Regions from separate parts of the Homo sapiens genome. Here all the other regions are linked to region 3. Evidence: promoter capture Hi-C in human tissues and cell types (Jung and others, 2019). All regions are on one chromosome and are shown on one strand. The core of a region is centred on a gene start or on the middle of the fragment in contact, and the rest is flanking DNA. Distances in the headings are between cores, read along the strand shown.

Evidence for each region. Contacts are between HindIII fragments. The study calls those that stand out against the background at their distance.
Region 1: a fragment that was not itself captured here is called in contact with the fragment with the promoter of OAS1 in region 3 in 2 of the 25 tissues and cell types used here (mesendoderm cells and thymus).
Region 2: a fragment that was not itself captured here is called in contact with the fragment with the promoter of OAS1 in region 3 in 2 of the 25 tissues and cell types used here (liver and thymus).
Region 4: a contact is called between a fragment that was not itself captured here and the fragment with the promoter of OAS1 in region 3, in 1 of the 25 tissues and cell types used here (lymphoblastoid cells).

The regions. Positions count from the first base shown.
Region 1 is chr12:112,520,560-112,523,774 of GRCh38, forward strand. No RefSeq gene overlaps it. Among named protein-coding and RNA genes, the nearest start is that of PTPN11, 100 kb to the left of the region's middle. The HindIII fragment of the contact is 4,619 bases long and covers 1-3,215 here.
Region 2 is chr12:112,548,568-112,551,761 of GRCh38, forward strand. No RefSeq gene overlaps it. Among named protein-coding and RNA genes, the nearest start is that of PTPN11, 130 kb to the left of the region's middle. The HindIII fragment of the contact is 5,589 bases long and covers 1-3,194 here.
Region 3 is chr12:112,905,636-112,908,948 of GRCh38, forward strand. It overlaps OAS1 (2'-5'-oligoadenylate synthetase 1), which reads left to right and starts at 1,327. Exons shown (of 6, transcript NM_016816.4): 1 at 1,327-1,584; 2 at 2,901-3,189. The coding sequence starts at 1,405. RefSeq lists an enhancer at 1,168-1,607. The HindIII fragment of the contact is 21,386 bases long and covers 1-3,313 here.
Region 4 is chr12:113,195,089-113,198,196 of GRCh38, forward strand. It overlaps DRC10 (dynein regulatory complex subunit 10), which reads right to left. Exons shown (of 5, transcript NM_001330452.2): 4 at 2,453-2,524; 5 at 358-801. The coding sequence ends at 487. Among named protein-coding and RNA genes, the nearest start is that of RITA1, 11 kb to the left of the region's middle. The HindIII fragment of the contact is 6,666 bases long and covers 1-3,108 here.

The DNA of each region.
Region 1 (3,215 bases), core at 653-3,152, 380 kb before region 3:
AAAAACCTTTTACTTTTATTGCAGTCTATTATTAGTATTGGAAGTCCTCAGTTAGATTTTCTCCCTGGTATGGAATGAAAACTTAATTCAAACACACACAGGAGAGGCAAACATGTTATTATTTGCTAATGGCTTTTAATCTTGGGAAGAGAGATAGATTGATTATCACCTCTGCCTTGGATAATTGGGGGAAGTGCTTCCATTTTGGAGAGGGTGATTTTTAAAGAGTTGAGAGTGGGGGAAGGCTGAGAGTCAAGAGCTGGTTAGGAGTCGTGCCTGTGTGATTTTGGTAACTTAAGCTTCTAGAGCCTCAGTTTCCTCACTGAAGAATGTGGCTGACAATTGTACCGTACTGCCCATGCCACTGTGAGGATTAAATGAGCTAATAGACATCATGGGAACAATTGTTGGTTTTTTTTTTTTTTTTTTTTGAGACTGAGATTAGCTCTGTCGCCTAGGCTGGACTGCAGTGGCACGATCTCAGCTCACTGCAACCTCTGCCTCCCGGGTTCAAGTGATTCTCGTGCCTCAGCCTCCCAAGTAGCTGGGATTACAGGCACCTGCCACCACGTTTGGCTAATTTTTGTATTTTTAGTAGAGACAGGGTTTCACCATGTTGTCCAGGCTGGTCTCAAACTCCTGACCTCAGGTGATCTGCCCTTCTTGGCCTCCCAAAGTATTGAGATTATAGGCATGAGCCACCACGCATGGCCTGTTTTTGAGGCAGGGTCTCGCTCTGTTGCTTAGGCTGGAGTACAGTGGTGGGATCTTAGCTTACTGCAATCTCCGCCTCCTGGGCTCAAGCCATCCTCCTGTCTCAGCCTCCTGAGTAGCTGGAACTACAGGCACACACCACCACGCTCGGCTAATTTTTGAATTTTTTGTAGAGATGAGGGTCTTGCTATGTTGCCCAGGCTTGTTTTGAACTCCTGAGCTCAAGCGATCCACCTGCCTTGGCCTCCCAGAGTGCTGGGATTACAGGCGTCAGCCACCGCACTGGCGAGAATGATTGTTTATTTGTAGTATCCCACAACAGAAGTACCACCCCCTGCAAATGTTCCTTTAAAGAAAAATGGTTATGGTGTCAGTTGTGCTATTTTCCATACACTGAAGTCTGATGCATCAGTGGAAAGGAGTGGATCACATCAACACAGATAAATCATACGAAGGGTTGAGGGAGACAAGCCAATCATAGAATCATATGAACAGAACGAGACCATTTATTTTGCATGTTCAGCAACATGCAAAAGCAAATAATACAATGTTTGCAGAAGAAAAATTACAACTGGGCATGGTGGCTCACGCCTGTAATCCCAGCACTTTGGGTGGCTGAGGCAGGTGGATCACTTGAAATCAGGAGATCGAGACCAGCCTGGCCAACATGGTGAAACCACATCTCTACTAAAAATACAAAAATTAGCCAGGCGTGGTAGCGGGCGCCTGTAGTCCCAGCTACTCGGGAGGCTGAGGCACAAGAATCACTTGAACCCAGGAGGTGGAGGTTGCAGTGAGCCCAGATGGTGCCATTGTACTCCAGCCTCAGCAACAGAGCAAGACTCCGTCTCAAACAATCAAACAAACAAACAACTGTGTATGGATCTCAAAGTTTTTTTGCACCAAAATAAACTCATACTAACTTGTTACAACACGTCTGAACAGGATCTAGTTTGAGGCACTAAGAAGGATAAGACATCTGTTTGAAAAGAACCCCTGTCAGAGCAACATGAATTCTCCTAAAACTGAAGTAAGAACAAACATCAAGTTTATGGTGAAGCTCGGGTGGAAGGATGGTGAAATCACTAATGCCTTATGAAAAGTTTGTGGGGAAAATGTGGTAGATAAATCAGCAGTTTACAAATGGATATCTCATTTTAAGAAGGGACAAGACAATATTGACTTGCCAGGCATGGTGGCACACGCCCGACATTCCAGCTACTGTGGAGGCTGAGGTGGGAGAATTGCTTGAGCCCAGGAGGTGGAGGCTGCACTGAGTCAAGATTGCACCACTGCACTCCAGCCTGGGTGACAGAGTGAGACTCCATCTCAAAAAAGAAAAAAAAGACAATGTCGAAAATGAGGTGCACAGTGGCAGATCATCCACATCAATTTTCGAGGAGAAAATTATCTTATTTGTGCCCTAACTGAAGAGGACTGATGATTAACAGCAGAAACAATAGCCAGCACCATAGACATCTCCATTGGTTCTGCTTACACCATTCTGAGTGAAAAATTAAAGTTGAGCAATGCCACTCATGAGTGTAAAATTATTACACCCAGATCAGCTGCAGACAAAAGCAGAGTTTTCAATGGAAATTTAAACAAATGAGATCAAGATCCTGAACATTTATTTGAAGAATTGTAACAGGAGATGAAACATTTACCATTATGATCCTGAAAACTAAGCCCAAGCGAAGCCATGGATACTAAGAGGTAGAAGTAGTCCAGTCAAAGCAAAAGCAGACCGGTCAAGAGCAAGGTCATGGCAACAGTTTTCGGGGATGCTCCAGGCATTTTGCTTGTTGACTTTCTGGAGGGCCAAAGAATGATAACATCTGCTGATTATGAGAGTGTTTTGAGAGAGCTAGCTAAAGCTTTAACCAGAAAAACACCTGGGAAACCTTCACCAGAAAGTCCTCCTCCACTATGACAACACTACTGCTCATTCCTCTCATCAAACAAGGACGATTTTGTAAGAGTTTTTATGGGAAATTATTAGGCATCCACTTTACAGTTCTGATTCTGCACCTTCTGACTTCTTTTTGTTTCTTAATCTTAAAAAAATCTTCAAAGGGCCCATTTTTCTACTGTTAATAATGTAAAAAAGACTGCATTGACAGGGTTCAATTCCCAGGACCCTCAGTTCTTCAGGGTTGGACTAAATGGCTGGTATCATGACTTACAAAAGTGTCATGATCTTTGCTGGGCACAGTGGTTCATGCCTATAAGTGAGAGGATTGCTTGAACCTAGGAGATTGAGGCTGCAGTGAGCCATGATCATGGCACTGCACTCCAGCCTGGGTGACAGAGCAACACCCTGTGTCAAAAAAAAAAAAAAAAAAAAAAGTCATGATCTTGATGGAGCTTATGTTGAGAAATAAAATTTATATTTTATATTTTTATCTTTTACTTCAATATCTATGAACTTTTTGAAGTCCCCTTGTATATACAGGCACTGTGCTAAGGTGCCTGACATGGATTCTCTTATTAAATCCACA
Region 2 (3,194 bases), core at 161-2,660, 360 kb before region 3:
TAATCCCAGGTAGCTGGGATTACAGGTGTGTGCCACCATGCCTGGCTAATTTTGTATTTTTTAGTAGAGACAGGGTTTCACCATGTTGGTCAGGCTGGTCTCAAACCTGACCTCAGGTGATCCACCCACCTTGTCCTCCCAAAGTGCTAGGATTACAGGCACGAGCCACTGCGCCCGGCCCACTTTTTGGAGGCTTTAGGGGGAGAATCTGTTTCCTTGCCTTCTTCAGCTTCTTAGAGCAGTGGTCCCCAACCTTTTTGGCACCAGGGACTGGTTTCATGGAAGACAGTTTTTCCGCGGGATGGTGATGGTGTAGGGGATGGTTTCAGGATGATTCAAGTATATCACATTTATTGTGCACTTTATTTCTATTATTATTACATTGTAATGTATAATGAAATAATTATACAACTCACCATAATGTAGAATCAGTGGGAGCCCTGAGCTTGTTTTTCTGCAAGTAGATGGTCCCATCTGGGAGTGATGGGAGACAGTGACAGATCATCAGGCATTTGATTTTCATAAGGAGTGCACAAGCTAGATCCCTTGCATGAGCAGTTCACGATAGGGTTCGTGCTCCTATGAGAATCTAATGCCGCAGCTGATCTGACAGGAGGCGGAGCTCAGGTGGTAATGTGAGAGATGGGGAGTGGCTATAAATACAGATGAAGCTTTGCTCACTTGCCTGCTGCTTGCCTCCTGCTGTGTGGCCTGGTTCCTAAGAGGCCACAGACAGTACCAACCGGTGGCCTGGGGGTTGGGGACCCCTGTCTTAGAGGATGCCTGCATTCTTTGGCTCATGGCCCCTTCAACCTTCAAAGCCAGTAACAGCTGGTTTAGTCTTTCTCATGTTGCATTCCTTTGACTCTGCCTCCCTCATATATATATATATATATATATGTGTGTGTGTGTGTGTGTGTGTGTGTGTGTGTGTGTGTGTGTATTTTGAGACACAGTCTCACTCTGTTGCCCAGGCTGGAGTGCAGTGGCATGATCATGGTTCACTGCAGCCTCGACCTCCTGGGCTCAAGTGATCTTCCCATCTCAGCCTCCCAAGTGCTCTTCAATCTTTAAAGGACCCTTGTGATTACATTGAGTCCACCCAGATAATCCAGGATAATTTCTTTATTTTAAGGTTAGCAAACTTAATTCTGTTTAATTTTTAAAAAGTTCTTTTGTTTCACTCTGTCGCCCAGGCTGGAGTGCAGTGGTACAATCATGGCTCACGGCAGCCTCCATTTCCTTTGCTCAAGCGATGCTCTTGCCTCAGCCGCCCAAGTAGCTGGGACTACAGGTGTGCAAAATCAAGCCTGGCTAATTTTTTTGTTTGTTTGTTGTTGTTGTTCTTGTTGTTGTTTTGTAGAGACGGGGTTTCTCTGTGTTGCCCAGGCTGGTCTCAAACTCCTGGGCTCAAGTGATCCTCCCACCTTGGCCTCCCAAAGTGCTGAGATTACAGGTATAAGTCACTGCATCCAGCCAACAAACTTAATTCTATCTGCAACCATAATTACCCTTTGCACCATGTAAAGTAACATATTCACAGGTTCCAAGGATTAGGATGTGGATATCTTGTGGGGGGTGGGGGGGGTGTTATTCTGTCTACCACAAGGCAGTTTCTGAACTTTGCTAGTCATCCATAATATATGGGTAACCCTGACTTCTTCATGGGTTGTTAACGGGTTCAGATGAGAGAACCTATGCAATACACCTGGCGCAGTCCGTGGCACACAGCAGGCATTCCTGTTAGTCCCTTTCCCTTCTCCTCCTTGGGCTATTGGCTTCAGTGTGGCTGAGCGTGTTTCTTCAGCTGTTAAATGACGTAGATATATCAGTCCCGCCTACCTCAAAGTGCTGTTCCTTTCTTCCTTCATTCACTTTCTCATTCACTCATGCAACAAATATGTATTGAGGGCCTACGATGCGTGAGACGCTTGTGCTAGGTGCCGGAGCAGAGCCGCAGATAAGGGAGACATGAGGTTTATTTTCAGGTGAGGAAGGAAATAGTGAGAAAACAGATAAACAATCCTAATTTGGTATAGTAATAAGTACAAGAAGACAAAGTAGGGTAAGAGAACACAGAAGGGTGGAGATGGTGGAGGGTGGGCAGTGGGATGCTATTTTAAATAGAGAGGTCAGAAAGAGCATGTCTAGGCTGGGTGCGGTGGCTCACCCCTATAATCCCAGCACTTTGGGAGGCTGAGGTGGGCGGATCACTTGAGTCCAGGAGTTTGAGACCAGCCTGGCCAACAAGGTGAAACCCCATCTCTACTAAAAATACAAAAATTTGCCGGGTGTATTGGCACATGCCTGTAATCTCAGCTACTCGGGAGGTTGAGGCAAGATAATCGCTTGAACCTGGGAGGCAGAAGTTGCAGTGAGCTACACTCCATCCTGGGTGACAGAGTGAGACTCTATCTCAAAAAAAAAAAAAAAAGAAAAGAAAGAAAGAAAGAAAGAGCATGTCTGAGTGACATGAGAAATGACAGTGAGTGTTTGTTGATCGCCTGAATGACATGATGCTGATTTCCAGCTTGATTGTGGCAGAAGTGGATAAGCTGATTGCTGGTAATCAGTTTAATTATGTAAGATTCCTTTCACAACATTTTAAGATTTTCTGGCTTCTCTTTTCTGTGTTGCATTTTACTAGCATTGAAAGAAGTGACCCAAAGCATAGATTCATTTTTCCTTTTGGAACTGGACAGATATTTCTCAGATTTAGCTGCTATTCCTCCTGGAGGCCTCTCAAAGGCAGCAGGAAGAGAGACCCTGACAGCTCTGTCCCCAGCTCTGTTTGTGACCTGCTCCACTTGCTTGGCAGCTGGGAACCTCAGCAGCCTCATTAACGTTGGAAAGCACTTTGGGTCTCTTGCTGAAAGACGCTAGGAAAGGCAGGTCATAATTATTTTGTTTTTCCTACATCTTCAAGGCCGTCAGATGCAGCTTGAACCTTCTCCATCAAGAACAAGAGGCTGGCCGGGCGCAGTGGCTCATGCCTGTAATCCCAGGACTTTGGGAGGCCGAGGCAGGAGAATTGCTTGAATCTGGGAGCTGGAGGTTGCAGTGAGCCAAGATCGCGCCACTGCACTCCAGCCTGGGCAACAGAGCTAGGCTCTGTCTATTAAAAAAAAAAAAGAACAAGAGGCTGCAGTTAGTGCAGGGAGGAGAGGAGATGGGCAAGGAAGAGAGAGGCTGAG
Region 3 (3,313 bases), core at 77-2,576:
GGAATTCAAGGGTGAGCTAGAGGAGGAAGAAAAAGGTTTATTGAGGCAGCAGGGTTACAGTTCTGTGACTGTCCCTGCAGAGCAGGGCCACCCCATAGGCAGTGCCTGGAGAGCAGCAGCTCAGGGCACTTCTATAGTCACATTCATACCCACTTTTAAATACGTGCAAATTAAGGGCAGGTTATTCAGAAATTTCTAGAAGAAGGGTGGTAACTGGGTCATTGCCAGGGAATGAGTAAACTGTTCATGGTGCTGGTGCTCATGCCAGCCAGTCTTCAATCTGGCCCTGAGTCAAGCCCCACCTCCTATCTCAAAACTATTCTGCATGGTGCTGTAATGGTGGATACATGACATGTTATGTTTGGCAAAATCCATAGAACTGTAGGACACAAGAGTGAACCTTAATGTAAACCTTAATGTAAATGGACTTTTGTTAATTATGATGTATTAATATCAATTCATCAATTGTAACAAATGTATCACAGTACTGTTAATAATAGAGGAACTTATTGGCAGGAGAGAGAGCTTATGGAACTCTCTGCACATTCAGCTCAATATTTCTGTAAGCCTAAAACTGCTGTGAGAAATAAAATCCAACCTGGGCAACATAGCAAGACCTTGTCTCTACAAAAAATAAAAAATGAGCTGGGTGCAGTAACGCATGCCTGTAGTCCCAGGTATTCAGGAGGCTGGGGCAGGAGGATCCCTTGAACCCAGGAAGTTGAGGTTGCACGAGTCATGATCATGCCCCTGCACTCCAGCCTGGATAACAAAGCAAGATCCTGTCTCCAAAAAATAATAAAATAAAATAAAAATCTACTAATTGAAAGGGAAAAAAGCATAGTATAATACCATTCTTAACAAAAAGAAAAGAGACCTGTGTTTGTGTGTGTGTTAACATTTGAAAAAAATCTGGAAAGCTCTATATCAAAACGTTTATAGAGGCAATTTTGTAGTGTTAGAATCATAGATGATCTTTCCACTTCCTGGTTTTTCTGACTTTTTTTCTTTTTGCAGTGGGCATGTATTGCTGGAAAATACCACAGACAACTGTGAAAGGATTTCATCAACAACAAAAAAAAGATAAAGAAGGAAACACAAAATCTGTTAAATAAGATTTATGTTGGCTGGAGGTTAAAATGCATTTCCAGAGCAGAGTTCAGAGAAAGGCTGGGCTGCTTGTTGCTGGCTAAAGGACAAAGGGTAAGTTTCAGGAAGCAGAAGAGTGAGCAGATGAAATTCAGCACTGGGATCAGGGGAGTGTCTGATTTGCAAAAGGAAAGTGCAAAGACAGCTCCTCCCTTCTGAGGAAACGAAACCAACAGCAGTCCAAGCTCAGTCAGCAGAAGAGATAAAAGCAAACAGGTCTGGGAGGCAGTTCTGTTGCCACTCTCTCTCCTGTCAATGATGGATCTCAGAAATACCCCAGCCAAATCTCTGGACAAGTTCATTGAAGACTATCTCTTGCCAGACACGTGTTTCCGCATGCAAATCAACCATGCCATTGACATCATCTGTGGGTTCCTGAAGGAAAGGTGCTTCCGAGGTAGCTCCTACCCTGTGTGTGTGTCCAAGGTGGTAAAGGTGAGTCCAGGCCTGCCTGGCCAGGGGAGGGGTGGCTGAATGTGCAAGAGTTGAGATTGAGAATGAGAGAGAGAGAGAGAGAGAAGCAAAAACCTAGAACCCAGGGTGCAAATGTGAGTACAGAGAGCTGAGATCTTCTGGGATGGTGGTTTCTTATTTATCCACACAGCATGTTAAAATAGATTCTGGGGTGAAATCCTACATCCCTATTATTAACAAGTGACCCTCCCCCCTACTTCCCGCTGAAGTTTATGAACCACTGTCCTGGGCGATGCCCATTTCAGAAATAGGGAACTGAATCCCAGCTCTGGTAAACAGTTTGCTAATTCGTGGCCAGGCTAGGGGCTCACCATTTCTGCAGTGAAGAATCATATGTTTTGAAAGCAAATAGCACCTGCTGGCTGCAAGACCTTGAGCAAGTCACTTAACTACTCTGTGTTCCAATTTCCTCAGCCATAATCCCCAATACTGTTGCAGTCTTGCCAGTGCACCTTAATGTAGCAGCTTCTCACTGAATTAGTACCCAAGGTTCTTTGTCCTGCATCCAAGAAAATTAAGGAACATGGACACAAACGTGAGCTTGGAGCAAAAGTTCAGTAAGCAAAAGAAGAAAGCTGTCTCCACTGTGGAGAGGGAAGTCTGAGTGGATTGCCAGATTGCAGCTGAATGCAAAAAACTTTTATAAGAAACCACTCTCCTCCCTGTAACTGTTTGAGAAACTTTTTATCAGTAAAGCTGTGCAACTTCCCTTACCTTATGCAGCTGTGGGTATATCTCTAGGCAAGCATAAAGCGCTGCTTCTCTTGTATGTATAACTGTGGATTTGTTTTAGGTAAGTCCCACTCCCTGCGCCAGTTTCAGGCAGGCCGCTCCTCCAGGGCCCAGCCTTGACCATTTACCTAACTGATTTTTCCTCTACTTTCCCTCAATACCTCATAGGGCCGTGTAGATTAAGTAAAATAGTAAGTGTGAACCACCCAGCATAAGCTAGTCCTGGGCATCGTAAAGGACAATGGGAAAAGAACACAGATCCTGGAAGAAGGCCCCCAGGTTTGAATTGTATTTGCCACCTACTAGCTGGGTGATGGGGCTGATATATTATCTCACTGAGCATCCATTTTCCCATCTGTAAAATGGGAACTAATGATAATGGCATCCAAATCATAGCATCATTGTGAGCATTATAGGAGTTTAAGACATGCAATGCCTTCAGAACAGTGGCTAGTGCTCCATAATGTTAGTGATTGCTCCTGTCATTTTATTTAGGGAGGTTTGCCTCACTAAGCATCAATTATTATTTTTGTCGTCTTTTTCAGGGTGGCTCCTCAGGCAAGGGCACCACCCTCAGAGGCCGATCTGACGCTGACCTGGTTGTCTTCCTCAGTCCTCTCACCACTTTTCAGGATCAGTTAAATCGCCGGGGAGAGTTCATCCAGGAAATTAGGAGACAGCTGGAAGCCTGTCAAAGAGAGAGAGCATTTTCCGTGAAGTTTGAGGTCCAGGCTCCACGCTGGGGCAACCCCCGTGCGCTCAGCTTCGTACTGAGTTCGCTCCAGCTCGGGGAGGGGGTGGAGTTCGATGTGCTGCCTGCCTTTGATGCCCTGGGTGAGAGCTCCCAGCTTCTTTTTCTCCCTCTTCCCATTTCTGAGCAGAAATCTCCCACAGTTTGAGAGCTTTTTGCCCCAACAGGGCATCTCTCTAAAGCAGGGTGGGAGGAGATCTTAGGATC
Region 4 (3,108 bases), core at 1-2,500, 290 kb after region 3:
GCTTTCACAGTGCTAGAGCAGGGGAAGTTGCAAGCAAATTAATCCCAGAACAGGGTTAGGGGCAGCCTGAAACCTGAGGCCCCGCTCCTCCTGGAGTTCCCTGCCTGCTTCTTTGCCCCCTATGGGCAGCTGTGACCCACACCCCGCTGCCCTGGTGAGTGATGTGTCCATCATGGCCATGGCAGCTTCCGGGCTGCAGCTGGGGTCTGGTTTCCCACTAAGGCTGAAGTAAGGAACCATAATCTCTGGGCTGACACCCCAGGCTGCACGCTCCTCATGGAAACACCATCTGTGAGCTGGACACACACAGCCCACAGCCCTGGGTAAAGAGATTTATTCGTAGAGCGTTCCCTTCAATGTGGCTTCAAATACTTTTTAATTTATTAAATAAAAACATGAAAGCCGTGAATTTAGTGCTCTCCATCTCGGGCCTTCCTGGCCTGGTCTCTGGGAAGATAAGGGTCAGGAGCGGGCTGGGTGGAGAGCTCATTTCTTGCCCTTGCCCTTCTCCTTGCCTTTCTGCTTGCCCTTCTCCTTGTCCTTTGCTTTGCCCTTGCCCCGCTTCTTCTTGGATCTGAGCAGGGAGCGCACCAGATAGCCCTTCCATAGGGCCTGGATGAGCGTGGCCGCCCGTACCATGCGCACCATCTCCTGCTCTGCCTCCATCCTTTTCTTGGAGTTGATCTCCCGCTCTTCCCGGATCTGCGCAAACTCTCCCACCAGCACTTTGTGCCTCCGCCTGAGCTCCTCCAGCGAGATCTTCTCCTCCCTGTGAACAGCGTCCAGATCCTCCAACTCCTCCTGGGGTGAGGGGTGGGGCTGGGGTCACCACACATAGAGTGCCTCCTCCCACCCTCCTCCCTGAGGCCCCCTTACCCTTCCCAAATGGTCTTCTGCCCCAGCGATGCCCCTAAGCTAAGCTGTTCAGCATCTCTCGGTCCCAGTGACATGGATGGGGAGAGGGGATGGGCTCCATCCTAGCTCTAGGAAGGACCCAACTGAAATAATTTCAGGAACAGGAAAAGAACATGGGCTTGTGAGTTGGGCAGACTTAGTTTTAAGTCCCAGCTCTGCCACACCTCAACTGACTTCACCTTTCGGGCCTTCGTTTTTCCTCATCTGAAACATGGGGACGATTCCGAAGCCAGGGGCTGTTTCTAGGATTAAATGACCCGATGGACACAATGTACTGGACATGATGCCAGGCACACAGTGGGGACACAAGAAATGGAGGCTGCTGCCATGAAAGCAGTCTGTTCCACAAGACACCAGAGGAGAAGGAACTTTCTCAGGCCTCAAACGGAGTCCCAGAGTTCTTCCTTATGTCTAACCATAGCCTCTCCTGCTGTCATTTACACCCGTTTTCCTTCCTTCCACTGATGTTTTCCCAGCATCTACAAAAAGCAGAGCACTGCCAGAGGACACAGAGCTGGGTGGACAAAGTCCCTGCCCGCAACCAACCCACAACCCTCATGGGACCCAGAGAAATGAGAGCCCCCGCCTGCAAAGCTCCCCTCTCCAGGCCCTGATGGTTGCCCAGGACAAGGTTCTGACTTGCCCTTCTCTGAAGAGCACACCTGGCTTTGGCTCACTCCAGCGCATATTACCTCCAGTGCTCTCCAGTGCTCCCCAGTCCTCCCTGGCCCCTGGGTTGGAGCCATGGGCCACCAATGTTATCCCAGTGCTGGGTGAAGGGTTTGGGCGTGTCTCGATTTGAAGGTTACCACCCCCTGAGCACTTCCCTCCAGGCCAGACCCTGTGCTGGGCACACACACTTGCAGCCATGGTGTCTCACCGAATCCCCGCCATGGTCCCAAAATGGGAATTACTGCCTTTGCTAATCAGATGCAGAAACGGGCTTGGGAAGGTCAAGTACCTTGCTTAAGGCCACACAGCTGGCACATCTCAGGTGCTCAATAAAAACTGGCTGAGTGACTGAGTGATGCAGTGGAGGCAGGCTCCCATCTGAGTCTGTGGGAAGGAGCCCCACCTTGTAGGGGTGCTGGCAGGAGCCCATCCAGAGGAGTATGGGATGTGGACACTAGATGGAGCCATGATCATTAGGCCCAGTGTCAGAGTGTCAGGCCCTTCTAGCCAGTCGCTTTTTTTTTTTTTTTTTTTTTAAATTAATAGAGATGGAGTCTTGCTCTGTTGCCCAGGCCGGTCTTGAATTACTGAGCTCAAGCGATCCTCCCACCTCAGCCTCCCAACGTGCTGGGATTACAGGCATGAGCCACAGCACCTGGCCTTGCAGCTTCTGGCTCTTTTCTTTCCCACCTCTCACTCTGCCCCAGGCTGGACAAACCCTTTAAACAAAGGGAAGTGCTCCCTGCAGAGAGGCTCAGAAGTTTGCCCACTCCATGGACCATCCCAAGGCTACTTTTCCCATTCATCCCATTCCTAGAAGGTCTTGGGAAAAGCATGCGAGAGAGACTTATTCAGCGACAAATACCTGCTTCTCACCCATCTCTGTATCATATTTCTGGATCCAGTTCTCGATTTCCGTTTCCACTTTATATTTCTTCTAGAAAAGATCCAATTTGTCATTGTTTGATGGAATATATTAACAATCAACAGCACTGAGCACTCTCTGCATCACTAGGCTCTGGCAGGTGCTTGACATGCCTCGCCTATTGAACAAGGAGGTTCCCTTTTCTCCATTTCACAGGGGAGAGAACTGAGGCTCAGACATGCTATCTTACTTGCCCAAGGTGACAGAGCTAATGGGTGGCAGAGCCTGAATTTGATGCCAGCAGCCTGGTTCCAGGACATCCTAGGCAGAGAAAGCAGCAGGTGCAAAGGCCCTGAGGTAGGAACAAGCTTGTGCTGTTTAAAGGACAGAAATCAGCCTGGCGTGGTGGCTTACGCCTGTAATCCCAGCGCTTTGGGAGGCTGAGGCAGGCGGGTCACTTGAGGCCAGGAGTTTGAGACCAGCCTGGCCAACATGCCAAAACCCCATCTCTACTAAAGATACAAAAATTAGCCAGGCATGGTGATGCACACCTGTAATCTCAGCTACTCAGGAGGCTGAGGCAGGAGAATCACTTGAACCCAGGAGGCAGAGTTTGCAGTGAGCTGAGATCATGCCACCACACTCCAGCCTGGGTG